Linked DNA regions of Homo sapiens: all the other regions are linked to region 1. Evidence: promoter capture Hi-C in 16 types of primary human blood cells and fetal thymus (Javierre and others, 2016). All regions are on one chromosome and are shown on one strand. Each heading gives the region's core, a stretch centred on a gene start or on the middle of the fragment in contact. The rest is flanking DNA. Distances are from core to core; before and after follow the strand shown. Region 1 holds the start of ZNF284 (zinc finger protein 284). Region 2 overlaps ZNF283 (zinc finger protein 283). Region 3 overlaps ZNF404 (zinc finger protein 404). Region 4 overlaps ZNF235 (zinc finger protein 235).

What was found. The method cuts DNA at HindIII sites, captures the fragments that hold promoters and counts their contacts. A CHiCAGO score of 5 or more calls a contact.
Region 2: a contact is called between a fragment that was not itself captured here and the fragment with the promoter of ZNF284 in region 1, in 4 of 17 cell types (neutrophils, activated CD4 T cells, M2 macrophages and 1 more). The highest score is 6.2, in neutrophils.
Region 3: a fragment that was not itself captured here is called in contact with the fragment with the promoter of ZNF284 in region 1 in 2 of 17 cell types (non-activated CD4 T cells and total CD4 T cells); the score reaches 5.6 in non-activated CD4 T cells.
Region 4: a fragment that was not itself captured here is called in contact with the fragment with the promoter of ZNF284 in region 1 in 2 of 17 cell types (total CD4 T cells and fetal thymus); the score reaches 7.9 in total CD4 T cells.

What each region holds. Positions count from the first base shown.
Region 1 is chr19:44,070,787-44,073,805 of GRCh38, reverse strand. It overlaps ZNF284 (zinc finger protein 284), which reads right to left and starts at 1,647. Exons shown (of 5, transcript NM_001037813.4): 1 at 1,515-1,647. The HindIII fragment of the contact is 12,821 bases long and covers 1-3,019 here.
Region 2 is chr19:43,845,897-43,848,879 of GRCh38, reverse strand. It overlaps ZNF283 (zinc finger protein 283), which reads right to left. Exons shown (of 7, transcript NM_181845.2): 7 at 1-1,941. The coding sequence ends at 239. Among named protein-coding and RNA genes, the nearest start is that of ZNF283, 20 kb to the right of the region's middle. The HindIII fragment of the contact is 2,596 bases long and covers 406-2,983 here.
Region 3 is chr19:43,870,025-43,873,073 of GRCh38, reverse strand. ZNF404 (zinc finger protein 404) reads left to right here. Exons shown (of 3, transcript NM_001033719.3): 3 at 1-709. The coding sequence ends at 519. Among named protein-coding and RNA genes, the nearest start is that of ZNF404, 12 kb to the left of the region's middle. The HindIII fragment of the contact is 3,147 bases long and covers 42-3,049 here.
Region 4 is chr19:44,286,666-44,289,498 of GRCh38, reverse strand. It overlaps ZNF235 (zinc finger protein 235), which reads left to right. Exons shown (of 5, transcript NM_004234.4): 5 at 303-2,833. The coding sequence ends at 2,281. Among named protein-coding and RNA genes, the nearest start is that of ZNF235, 17 kb to the left of the region's middle. The HindIII fragment of the contact is 1,866 bases long and covers 518-2,383 here.

The sequences.
Region 1 (3,019 bases), core at 398-2,897:
GAGGCCGAGGCTGGTGGATCATGAGGTCAGGAGATCAAGACCATCCTGGCTAACACGGTGAAACCTCATCTCTACTAAAACTACAAAAAAATTAGCCGGGCGTGGTGGCGGGCGCCTGTGGTCCCAGCTACTCACACAGGAGGCTGAGGCAGGAGAATGGCGTGAACCTGGGAGGCGGAGTTAGCAGTGAGCCGAGATCGTGCCACTGCACTCCAGCCTGGGCAACACAGTGAGACTCTGTCTCAAAAAAAAAAAAAAAATGCACTCGAAGTTTAACAGTTACTATCTTTACATGCTGGATTCATGGGTAATTATAAACTTGTACTACTCGTATTTCTCCAATTTCTGAACGCTCCACAATCATACCGCTGCATAACAAGTGAAATATTTGTAATAAATGAAATAGTTCTAATGAATGAAATAGTTGATAAACTCCCAGAACAGTCCAAGCCCATAAGCCTTGCTCTCAAGGCTCCCTTCAATCAAGTCCTAGCTTGCTTTCCCCACTAGATTCCAGCTAGTTCCTCTGCCTCAATGAGAATGTATCCAAAAGATTATCAACTAAGGCTCTGACCTGTAACGCCCAGGTTTCAACCGCAGCTCCACCTCTTACTGCTTAGGTGACTATTCTCAGATAACTCCTGCTCCTTTGTATCTCACTCATCTTTAAAACTGAAAAAAGTAGTACCTCTCCACAGAGCCACGGTGTGGCGAAAATGTGACTACTTGTATAAAGCTCTTGGGATAAAGTTACCAATTGAGGCTTAATTATTATCAACACCCATGCCTGAGGACACATCCTACACTCTTGGTCGGGGTGAGCATCTCTGTAAAAGAAAAAAAGCCAAGGACCACTCTCGTGGAACTTTGCCCTCAGTAGCCAAGAAGTCCCTCCCTGCAGCTCTTTTTGAGAATCAGGCTGGGGAAGGAGAAAGCTGTGAAACACCCTGACCGCATTGCCGTCCGGCATAAAAGTTAAATGTTCCTCTCCCTTCGTGGAAATGGAAACAACCCTCGCCTTCCTAAAAAGAGGTCAGAAGCGTCCGGGATCACCCAGCGTCCTGCAGGAATCAGAGACAAGGGCGGGGATCCCTGCAGATGGAGCTCTGACCCCACCCGGGGACCTGACAGGCTTCGTGGGAAATAAACACTAAGAAGAGACCACCAGTCACTAAGGGAGGGGCTGCTTTAAGGCTTTCATTTGTGTTACCTCTTCCAGTTCCCAAAACGATTTCATTAGGATGGTCCTAAAGTCCCCATTTTAAAGAACAGCAGTGGGAGGTACAGGGAGATTAATAACATCCCAACCCTAAATTGTGAGAAAGTAGCCTCACAGGTGGGATGGAGGGAGGCGGACTGAGCGAGCTGAGAGCCCCAAAAACCCTCAAACCAGGCGAGACGCGTCCCGACCAAGTCCCAACCCCCAGCCTCATGCCCGGGGACGCGAGGACAGCCCCAAGACCAAGAAGGCTCCGCTGACAAGAACGAAAAGAGAGGCCGTTGTCCCTCCAAACCTCCGTTTTCCAACGAGACTCCTTCTCCCCTTAGTCAACTTCCAGGTGGTTGCGAGCCAGCATCGTAAGGGGACACGTTTAGAAGGACCGACAAGACACAGGACTGACACCAAACTACCACCGAATGCACTGCAGCAACCTCGCCCCCCGGGAGCGGAAGTGCCCCTACCCCGCGCAGCGTGTGAACTACATTTCCCAGAATTCCCCGGATACGCCGTCCTGAGCCTACTTGCTCGTCATTCAACAGATCTCCTGCGCTACACTTCCTTGAATCTCAAAGGAGACGTTCTATAGTATCACCTTCCGGCGGGAAGCGTGGGACTCCGCGGTGCTCTTTGACTACACTTCCTGCAATGCCCACGAGGAATGAATCCCATAGACCCAAGCGCCTGGTTTGGAATATGGACTGTGGCCCTGAGAGTGGTCCTTCCCTCTCCCTGCGTCCTCGAGAGAAAATATTGAATAGACAGGAATTCCTGAAGTCTACACGCCTCCCATGATGACAGGAGTGTTACTGAAAGAGAACAAAGCAAGGAGATACAATCTTCAAGGAGTTAGCGGGGAGTGACTGTGGAGCGGTCAGGAGATGGCTGAAAGGCTAATATACTAGACGCTAATAGTATGAGGCTAAATCTAAGAGCTTAAATAATGGGCCAGGAAAAATGGTTTGGGAGAGGCATTGAGTGGGGCACCAGCCCCTGGTACAACCAGACACTGTTGTACCACTGGTTTGGCAAGAAAAACAACCACAGTTTAAGTGTTTAAGAGGGCTGTAAGAGTTAAAGAGAAAAAAAAAAAAAACACGAAAAGCGGCTCAACAGTCAAAGACAGGTTCGTTTTGGAGAATAAACCGAGAGGGCCTTCTGGCCGATTGCAGTCAGGAGCGCTCTCTCTTACGGACTAAGAGTATGTATTGGCTTTAGGGAGAGAGAGCTTACCACAGGCTTAGAATGTTTCTGTATTGGGGAGAAGTCTGTTGTGGGGTTGGAATATCTCTGGTTGGAGGGGAAGTTATCTTGGGACTGACATCTCTCCAATGGAAGGGAGGTTATCTCGGTGCTGGCATGTCTCTGGTCAGGGAGGGGTTTATCTTATGGTTGGAATGTTTCTGATTGGAGATGTCATTTGTGGTTTATGGTCATGCTGACCTTAGCCATTAGGCTGATGCCCTTTGGATTTAGGCAGTTTTTGATCAACGCGAACTTTAAAATGGCAGTGTTTGTCCAAGATGGCGATGCTCCTGCCCTGTCAAGGGCCAATATGGAGGGCCAATTGCCCTCCTGGAAAAGCTATCTTCCCACTTTTAAAGTTTTCATATTAATATTCTTTAGACGTGGAAATGCCACATTTAAGAGAAATTAAACTGCTTAGTATTGTGAAAGGAAAATATCTTGGGCCCCCAAAATCACTAAGGAAATCTCAAGCTGGAAATCGCTTAGGGCAAACCTGCCTCCCATTCTATTCAAAGTCACTCCTCTATCTGTCCTTGCTATCACGAGAACAGC
Region 2 (2,983 bases), core at 454-2,953, 220 kb after region 1:
CATCAGTATAAATTGATATCCAATAAGACTGTACAGAAGTCTAAAGGCCTTTTCATATTAATTATATTCAAAATATTTCTCACTAGTATGAATTGCTGGATAGCAAGATAATTGCCCATAAACAGAAATGAATGGCTTTTGCACAACCCTTACATTCACAAGGTTTCTCAAGAGTAAGAGTTCTTATTATGATAAGTTGTCTATACACACACACAAAATATTCTTTTACAACTTTCAATCATAAGGTTTCATCAGTATCAATTTTCTCATTTGAGTAAGTTGTCCACAGAAAGGCTTCCCCACATTCGTTATATTTGTAGGGTTTATCATTACTATGAGTTCTCTCATGAACAAGTTTTGAGCCACAAGTAAAGGTCTTCCCGAATTCCTTACGTTGATAAAGCTTCTCACCAGTATGAAATCTCTGATGAACACTAAGTTGATAGCCACTACCAAAGGCCTTCCCACAGTCTTTACATTCATAAGACTTCTCATTAGTATGGACTCTCTCATGCTTAACTAGGCTTGAACCCCAACTGAAGGCCTTCCCACATTCCTTACATTTGAAAGGTTTCTCACCGGTATGAATTTTCTGATGTTGAGTAAGGTGATAGCCACGACTAAAAGCCTTCCCACATTCTTTACATTCATAGGGTTTCTCCCCTGTATGGATTCTTTCATGTTGAACAAGGCTTGATCCACAATTAAAAGCCTTCCCACATTCCTTACATTCATAGGGTTTCTCACCAGTGTGAAATACCTGATGTCGAGTAAGTTGATACCCACTACAAAAGGTCTTTCCGCATTCTTTACATTCATGGGATTTCTCACCAGTATGAACTCTCTCATGTTTAACAAGGCTTGAACCCCAACTAAAGGCCTTCCCACATTCCTTACATTCAAAAGGTTTCTCACCAGTATGGATTTTCTGATGTTGAGAAAGGTGATAGCCACGACTAAAGGCCTTTCCACATTCTTTACATTCATAAGGTTTCTCACCAGTATGAATTCTTTCATGTTGAATAAGACTTGATCCGCAATTAAAAGCCTTCCCACATTCCTTGCATTCATAGGGTTTCTCACCAGTATGAAATATCTGATGTCGAGTAAGTTGATAGCCCCAACAAAAAGCCTTTCCACATATTTTACATTCATAAGGTTTCTTACCAGTATGGATTTTCTGATGCTGAGTAAGCTGATAGCCACGACTGAAGGCCTTCCCACATTCTTTACATTTATAAGGTTTCTCACCTGTATGAATTATCTCATGTTTAGCAAGGCTTGAGCCCCAAAAAAAGGCCTTCCCACATTCCTTACATTTATAAGATTTCACACCAGTATGAATTTTCTGATGTTGGGTAAGGTGATAGCCACGACTAAAGGCCTTCCCACATTCTTTACATTCATAGGGTTTCTCACCAGTGTGAATTCTCTCATGTTTAACAAGGCTTGATCCCCAGCTAAAGGTCTTCCCACATTCCTTACACTCATAGGGTTTCTCACCAGTATGAAATCTCTGATGCACATTGAGTTGATAGGCACTTAAATAATTCTTCCCACATTCTTTACATTCAAAGTGTTTTTCAGCTGTATGAGTTCTCTCATGTTGAACAAGTTTTGAGCCATGACTGCAAGCCTTCCCACATTCCTTACAAACATAGGATTTCTCTGTATTATGAATTCTTTGATGTGGAGTAAGAGATTTACTTTTTCTGTAAGAAGGTATTTTTTCATAGCTGATTATCATTTGACTGAAGTATCCCTCTTGATGTCCTTTTAGTCCCTCGAATATGCTTTTGCACTTCCAATTATTTCTGAAGATGGATGCCTCAAGGCCAAGGGTTTTACTTTTGTCCTTCATCTCCCACTGGGAAAAATTTATTTCAAAAATATCATTTTCTGAAAATATTTTTTTGGTCTCATACGTTTTTGACTCCAAATCTGAAAGAAAACAAGAAAACCACACATTTTATTTCCTTCACTAGGGAAAAAAAAAAAAAAACTACAGTAGAAATAAAAGACAAATTAGGAGACTTACTGAACTCACTCCTTGGCATTAAGGCACTCCCTTGTTAAATAACAAACTCAGCCTTGATTTTGCAGCTCTTGTGATCTGAATGTTCTGATTTTATAGTTTTCTGGAGGATTCCACAGAGGTCGCTTCAACAAGTCCCTCATTTTCCCACGCTGATGTTCCCTCAAACCAAATGTCAGCTTCCATCAATCAAGCCCTTATGTGCCCAGTTGTGGTCATCCAATGTATCTTAATGGGAATCAAATTCTTATCATAATGAGCTTTGGCTGATTTTGTTTTGTCTAACAACTCTTTTGTCTAACAACTCAATGGTCGCAACTCTGCCATTTTATCAAGGCAGCCATGGGCAATATGTAAACATATAAACAAATGGGCAAGACTATGTTCCAATACAACTTTATTTGCAAAAACAGGTGGATTTGGCCTCCAGAGCCAGAGTTTTCCAACCCCTGAGATAAAGCAAACATTGCTTTCATAAATGTTCACAATTGTAAAAATATAAAGTTCAATTAAATTTTACATTTACTTAGATTTATTAGCCAGAATTTTTATAAAAGGATTGATTTTTATAACTTCATATAATGCTGCAATTATGTGACTCTATAGATTTTACCTTATTTAAAAATTTTAAATGTCTATCAATTTTAAAAATCAACAGTAATTGTATTGCTATTTAAGGATCACTTTAAATTATAAGATCTCCAATTCACTTAGACAAAATGATCTTGAGAGTTACTAATAAATAATTTCTGGTTGCATAAAAAGTTCCTAAGAAGATATTCATAAAAGAGGAAGAACAAATATTTTGAGTTATTTTTCAATTAAGTTTACTTATTTCTTGACCATTGTTAAACATATTTTCACTCAACTAAGCTCAAACTACCCTGTCAAAAATCAATGTGATACACACATCATCTTATAACACATTAATACTGTTAATTATATTTT
Region 3 (3,049 bases), core at 366-2,865, 200 kb after region 1:
AAGCCACATGAATGTAAAGAATGTGGGAAGACTTTTAAGCTTCATTCATATCTTATTCAACATCAGATAATTCATACTGATTTGAAGCCATATGAATGTAAGCAATGTGGGAAAGCCTTCAGTCGTGTTGGAGACCTTAAGACACATCAATCAATTCATGCTGGGGAGAAACCCTATGAATGTAAGGAATGTGGAAAAACCTTTAGACTTAATTCTCAACTAATTTATCATCAGACAATTCATACTGGTTTGAAACCCTATGTATGTAAAGAATGTAAGAAGGCCTTTCGTTCTATCTCAGGTCTTTCTCAACATAAGAGAATTCATACTGGTGAAAAACCCTATGAATGTAAAGAATGTGATAAGGCCTTTAATCGCAGTGATCGACTTACTCAACATGAGACAATTCATACTGGTGTGAAACCACAGAAATGCAAAGAATGTGGTAAGGCCTTTAGTCATTGCTATCAACTTAGTCAACATCAAAGATTTCACCATGGTGAGAGACTCTTAATGTAATGAGAGGGAAAGCCTTTAGCCATGGCACATTTTTACTGTTGTCACTATTATGATGCTATAGTGAAGATTAAACTAGTTAATATAGAATATAAATACTTGGAAAGGCATCTGGCACATCGTATTTGCTTACTAAATACATTATTTTTATGATAATTGTTAGAATTACTAAAAATAAATCTTATAGAAGGAAGACCCTATGAGTGTGATATTTTGAAAATGCTCTATCATCACTTCATATAATTTATTCTGGACAAAATCCTGTAGAATATATTAAATGAGAAATTTTTAAATTCAGAATTCATACCCCTGAAGATTAATGCTGGAATAAATAATGTGTATTTATTGAATAATGAAAGGATAGCTGTTGAAAATTAGAGAGTGGTTTAAAGAAATTTTTTCACAAATCCTATAATACAGATAACACATATTTTGCATCCTCTACAATTAAAATAAATTAGAAATGAACAGTTAGGTAGCCAAAAGACAGATATTAACTTGGAAAAGTTTTCCCTAAGTTTATGAAAATGTTAAGATTTACATCCTTACAGAAAAGGTAGCTGTTTACAGTGGTGCAGTGAAGGCTTGTTTGCCCTTCACCTAGTTTCAGTACATCTGATGTCTCTCTTTTTTATGTGTATACTAACACATATATACACACAAATACATATATACCATGCATGTCTTATGTCTATGTATATACACAGATGCATATATATATATATCATACTTATTACACATGAATATATGTATATATTACATATATCACTTTTCCTGTTTTTTGAGTGAATGTTTTAGGTATCATTCACCTCTAAAAAAAAGGCAACATACAACTGCTAGGATCAAAGATAATCTTCTAGATGTCTACTACACCATTGTCACAAAAAAATTAACAGTAACCCTATAATGTCTTAAAATATTCACTCCATTTGCAAATTTCTCCAATTTTTAAAATAATGTCTTTTAGCACTGTCTTTTTCACAAGCCAAGAACCAAACTAATCTCATATATTTTATATGATTATGGCTTATTAAGTCTCTTTTAGTCAAGAGCCTACCCTTCATCATTTTGTGACATAGACTTTTTGAAGACTTTAGATTTGACCTAAATAGTGTTGCACATGCTGTGTTTGTCTTATTGTTTCTGGAGGTGTGATTAACTTGTTTCTTTGTCCTCTATATTTACTGTGACCTGGAGGTTATGATTAGAGGCTTGATTGGGTTTCAGATTAAACATTTTCAAAAGACTACTTCATAGATAGTATCATGTACTTAATATTGTAAAGTATCAGGTGGCCTACAAGTGAAACTATGTTTTATCCCTTGATTCATGTATTGACCACCAGCTCCTTCCATTGTTATGGGTGAATTTTTTCTTTGCAATTAAATAAGTAATCCATGGAAAGTCATGTTGGAAATTTGAACAGTCTTCTGTATTCTATTTTTAGAGATGGGGTATTGCTATGTTGCCCAGGCTGGAATTCAGTGGCTATTCACAGATGTTATATAGCACACTACAGCCTTGAACTCCTGAGCTCAGGCAATCCTCCTGCCTCAACCTCTGGAGTAGCTGGGACTATAGGCACACAGTGCTACACCCAGTTGCTTAAAGAAATTAAGATGAAAATCCTCATCTTTTATATTTACCCATATATTTACTATTTCCCATGCTGTTTATTTCTTTCCAGAGATCTGAATTTTTCTCTGGTATCATTTCCCTACAGTTTGAGGAACTTAACTTAGCATTTCTTGGAGTGAACGTCTGCTGGTGATGAATTTTCATAGTTTCTTTTACTGAAATGCCTTTATTTTTTAAGGATTTCTTCTGGCTATAGAATTCTGGGTTGGCAGTTTTTTGGAGATATATGAATATATGTGTGTGTATATGCACACACACAAAGAATACACACACATATATATACTCATAAAGAGATATATATTGTTTCATATATGTATATATAAATCACCGACTTCTGGTCTTCAAGTCTCCATAGTTTACAAGAAGAAGTCATTTGAATTGTTTTTTCTCTTATGTAATGTGTCCTTTTTCTCTGGGTGCTTTCCAGATTTTCTTATTACTTTTGGTTTTCAGCTGTTTGAGTATGAGGTGCCTAGGTATGGTTTTCTTTGTGTTAATTCTGCTTGGGGTACTCTGAGCCTCTGAAATTTGCACACATGTGCCTTTCACCAAATTCCAGAAATTCTTGGCCATTATATCTTCAAATATTTTTTCTGCATTTACTCTACTCATACGTTAAATCTTTTGGTACTGTCCCACAGGTCACTGTCTTTGTTATTTATCTTCAGTATTTTTTTTCTGTTCTTCAGCTTGGACAACTTCTGTTACTCTGTTTTCAAATTCACTTATTCTTTTTCTCTGTCATTTCAGTTCTGCTGCTAAGCCTATCTATCAAATTGTTTAATTTCAGATATTACATTTTTCAGTTCTAGAATTTTCCTTTAGTACTTTTATAGTTCCTATTTCTTTACTAAGATTGCCTATTTCTTCATTGCATGCATCTTTTCACAAGGCT
Region 4 (2,833 bases), core at 201-2,700, 220 kb before region 1:
TTGGAGTTGTGTATACTGGAGAATACACACAGGCAGCAAGACTCATACTCAGAAAAGACCCAAGATACACCTTAACCATACCCTGGGCTGATCTCAAATTTTCTATCTTAAATATGGCTTTTTAAAACATTTGGTGTTCTCTTGGTTGCAGCTGCTTTTCAGAGTTCCTATAAATTTATTTCAGCCAGTCTAGTTGTTTTTTTGACGTTTCCATGGGGAAAATGAGAGCTTAGATCTTAATTCTCTACTTTGCTAATGTCAGTCTCTTGGTCCTTTATTCCTTATTCTCTCTATCCTTTCAGGAGACAGGAATCAAAATGAGATGGCAACTCTTCACAAAGCAGGATTAAGGTGCTTTTCACTGGGAGAGCTTTCATGCTGGCAAATCAAGAGACACATTGCGAGCAAATTAGCCAGAAGTCAAGACTCCATGATAAATATTGAAGGAAAGAGCTCTCAGTTCCCCAAGCACCATGATTCCCCCTGTCAAGTGGGAGCAGGAGAATCTATTCAAGCTTCTGTGGATGACAACTGTCTAGTGAATCACATAGGGGATCATTCCAGTATCATTGAAAATCAAGAATTTCCAACTGGGAAAGTTCCGAATTCTTGGAGTAAAATATATCTGAATGAGACACAGAATTATCAGAGAAGTTGTAAGCAGACTCAGATGAAAAACAAACTATGTATATTTGCTCCATATGTTGACATTTTCAGTTGTATTTCACACCACCATGATGATAATATAGTGCACAAAAGAGATAAAGTTCATAGCAATAGTGATTGTGGTAAAGATACCCTAAAGGTATCACCTCTTACCCAGCGTAGTATTCACACAGGACAGAAAACCTACCAGGGTAATGAATGTGAAGAAGCCTTCAATGATAGCTCCAGTCTTGAACTTCATAAACAGGTACACTTGGGAAAGAAGTCTCCAGCGTGTAGTACACATGAGAAGGACACCAGTTATAGCTCAGGTATTCCTGTTCAACAAAGTGTTCGTACTGGGAAAAAACGCTATTGGTGTCATGAATGTGGTAAAGGTTTCAGTCAGAGCTCAAATCTGCAAACTCATCAGAGAGTCCACACAGGGGAGAAACCCTATACATGCCACGAGTGTGGTAAGAGCTTTAATCAGAGCTCACATCTTTATGCTCATTTGCCTATTCACACAGGAGAGAAGCCCTATAGATGTGACAGTTGTGGGAAGGGCTTCAGTCGTAGCACAGATCTTAACATTCATTGCAGAGTTCACACTGGAGAGAAACCTTATAAATGTGAGGTGTGTGGGAAGGGCTTCACTCAGAGATCACATCTTCAGGCCCATGAAAGAATTCACACTGGAGAGAAACCATATAAATGTGGGGATTGTGGTAAACGCTTTAGTTGTAGCTCAAATCTTCATACCCATCAGAGAGTCCACACTGAAGAAAAACCATACAAATGTGATGAGTGTGGTAAGTGCTTTAGTTTGAGCTTTAATCTTCATAGTCATCAACGAGTCCACACAGGAGAAAAACCATATAAATGTGAAGAGTGTGGTAAGGGTTTTAGTTCAGCCTCAAGTTTCCAGAGCCATCAGAGGGTCCATACAGGAGAGAAACCATTTCGATGCAACGTGTGTGGGAAAGGCTTCAGTCAGAGTTCATACTTTCAAGCACATCAGAGAGTCCACACTGGAGAAAAACCATACAAATGTGAAGTGTGTGGGAAGCGCTTCAATTGGAGCTTGAATCTTCACAATCATCAGAGAGTCCACACCGGAGAGAAACCCTACAAATGTGAAGAGTGTGGTAAGGGTTTCAGTCAGGCTTCAAATCTTCAAGCCCATCAGAGCGTCCACACTGGGGAAAAACCATTCAAGTGTGATGCATGTCAGAAGCGATTCAGTCAGGCCTCACACCTTCAAGCCCATCAGAGAGTCCACACCGGAGAGAAACCATATAAATGTGACACTTGTGGTAAGGCCTTCAGCCAGAGGTCAAATCTTCAAGTCCATCAGATAATTCACACTGGAGAGAAACCATTTAAATGTGAGGAATGTGGGAAAGAATTCAGTTGGAGTGCTGGTCTCAGTGCCCATCAGAGGGTCCACACAGGAGAGAAACCCTATACGTGTCAGCAGTGTGGGAAGGGCTTCAGTCAGGCCTCACATTTTCACACACACCAGAGAGTCCACACTGGAGAGAGGCCTTACATATGTGATGTCTGTTGTAAGGGCTTCAGTCAGAGGTCACATCTCATCTACCATCAGAGAGTCCACACTGGAGGGAATCTGTAGAAATGAGAGGTGTGGTTCAGCCTTCAGTTAGAGCTCACATCTTTGTCTCCGTTGGGAAGTCCATGCTGATGATTGTGAAAAGTTCCTTTAAAACTAGAAGCTTCAAAGAATCTTGACAGGAAAGAAGTCTCTCAAATGCTGTGTTTTAGACTTGGTTAGGACATGAATTCTTTACAAACGTCATATTTCACAGATGCGAGAAAACTTTGTTCTGTAAATATGATCAGTGTTTATATCAGAGTACCAGGTGTCCCGGTTCTCAAGATGTAACACAGCAGAAAAGTCTTGTCGGAGTCTGCACAGGAGAGAGGCCTTCCTTTAACAAAAGTATGATTGACAGAAAAAATGGATGTCAACTAAAATGTAACCTCTATGTAAGGAGGTGTTTTTCACCACTCTATCTCTACCATGTAGAATTGTGCTTGGCTCATAATAGGGCCCAGCAATTACTGAAGAAAGTGAAGAAAATACCTATAATTAGGACAAATACTTGAAAATTCTAGTCTGTTTTCTACTCTAAATTTATATTAATTTATATTCAAAAGGAATCCT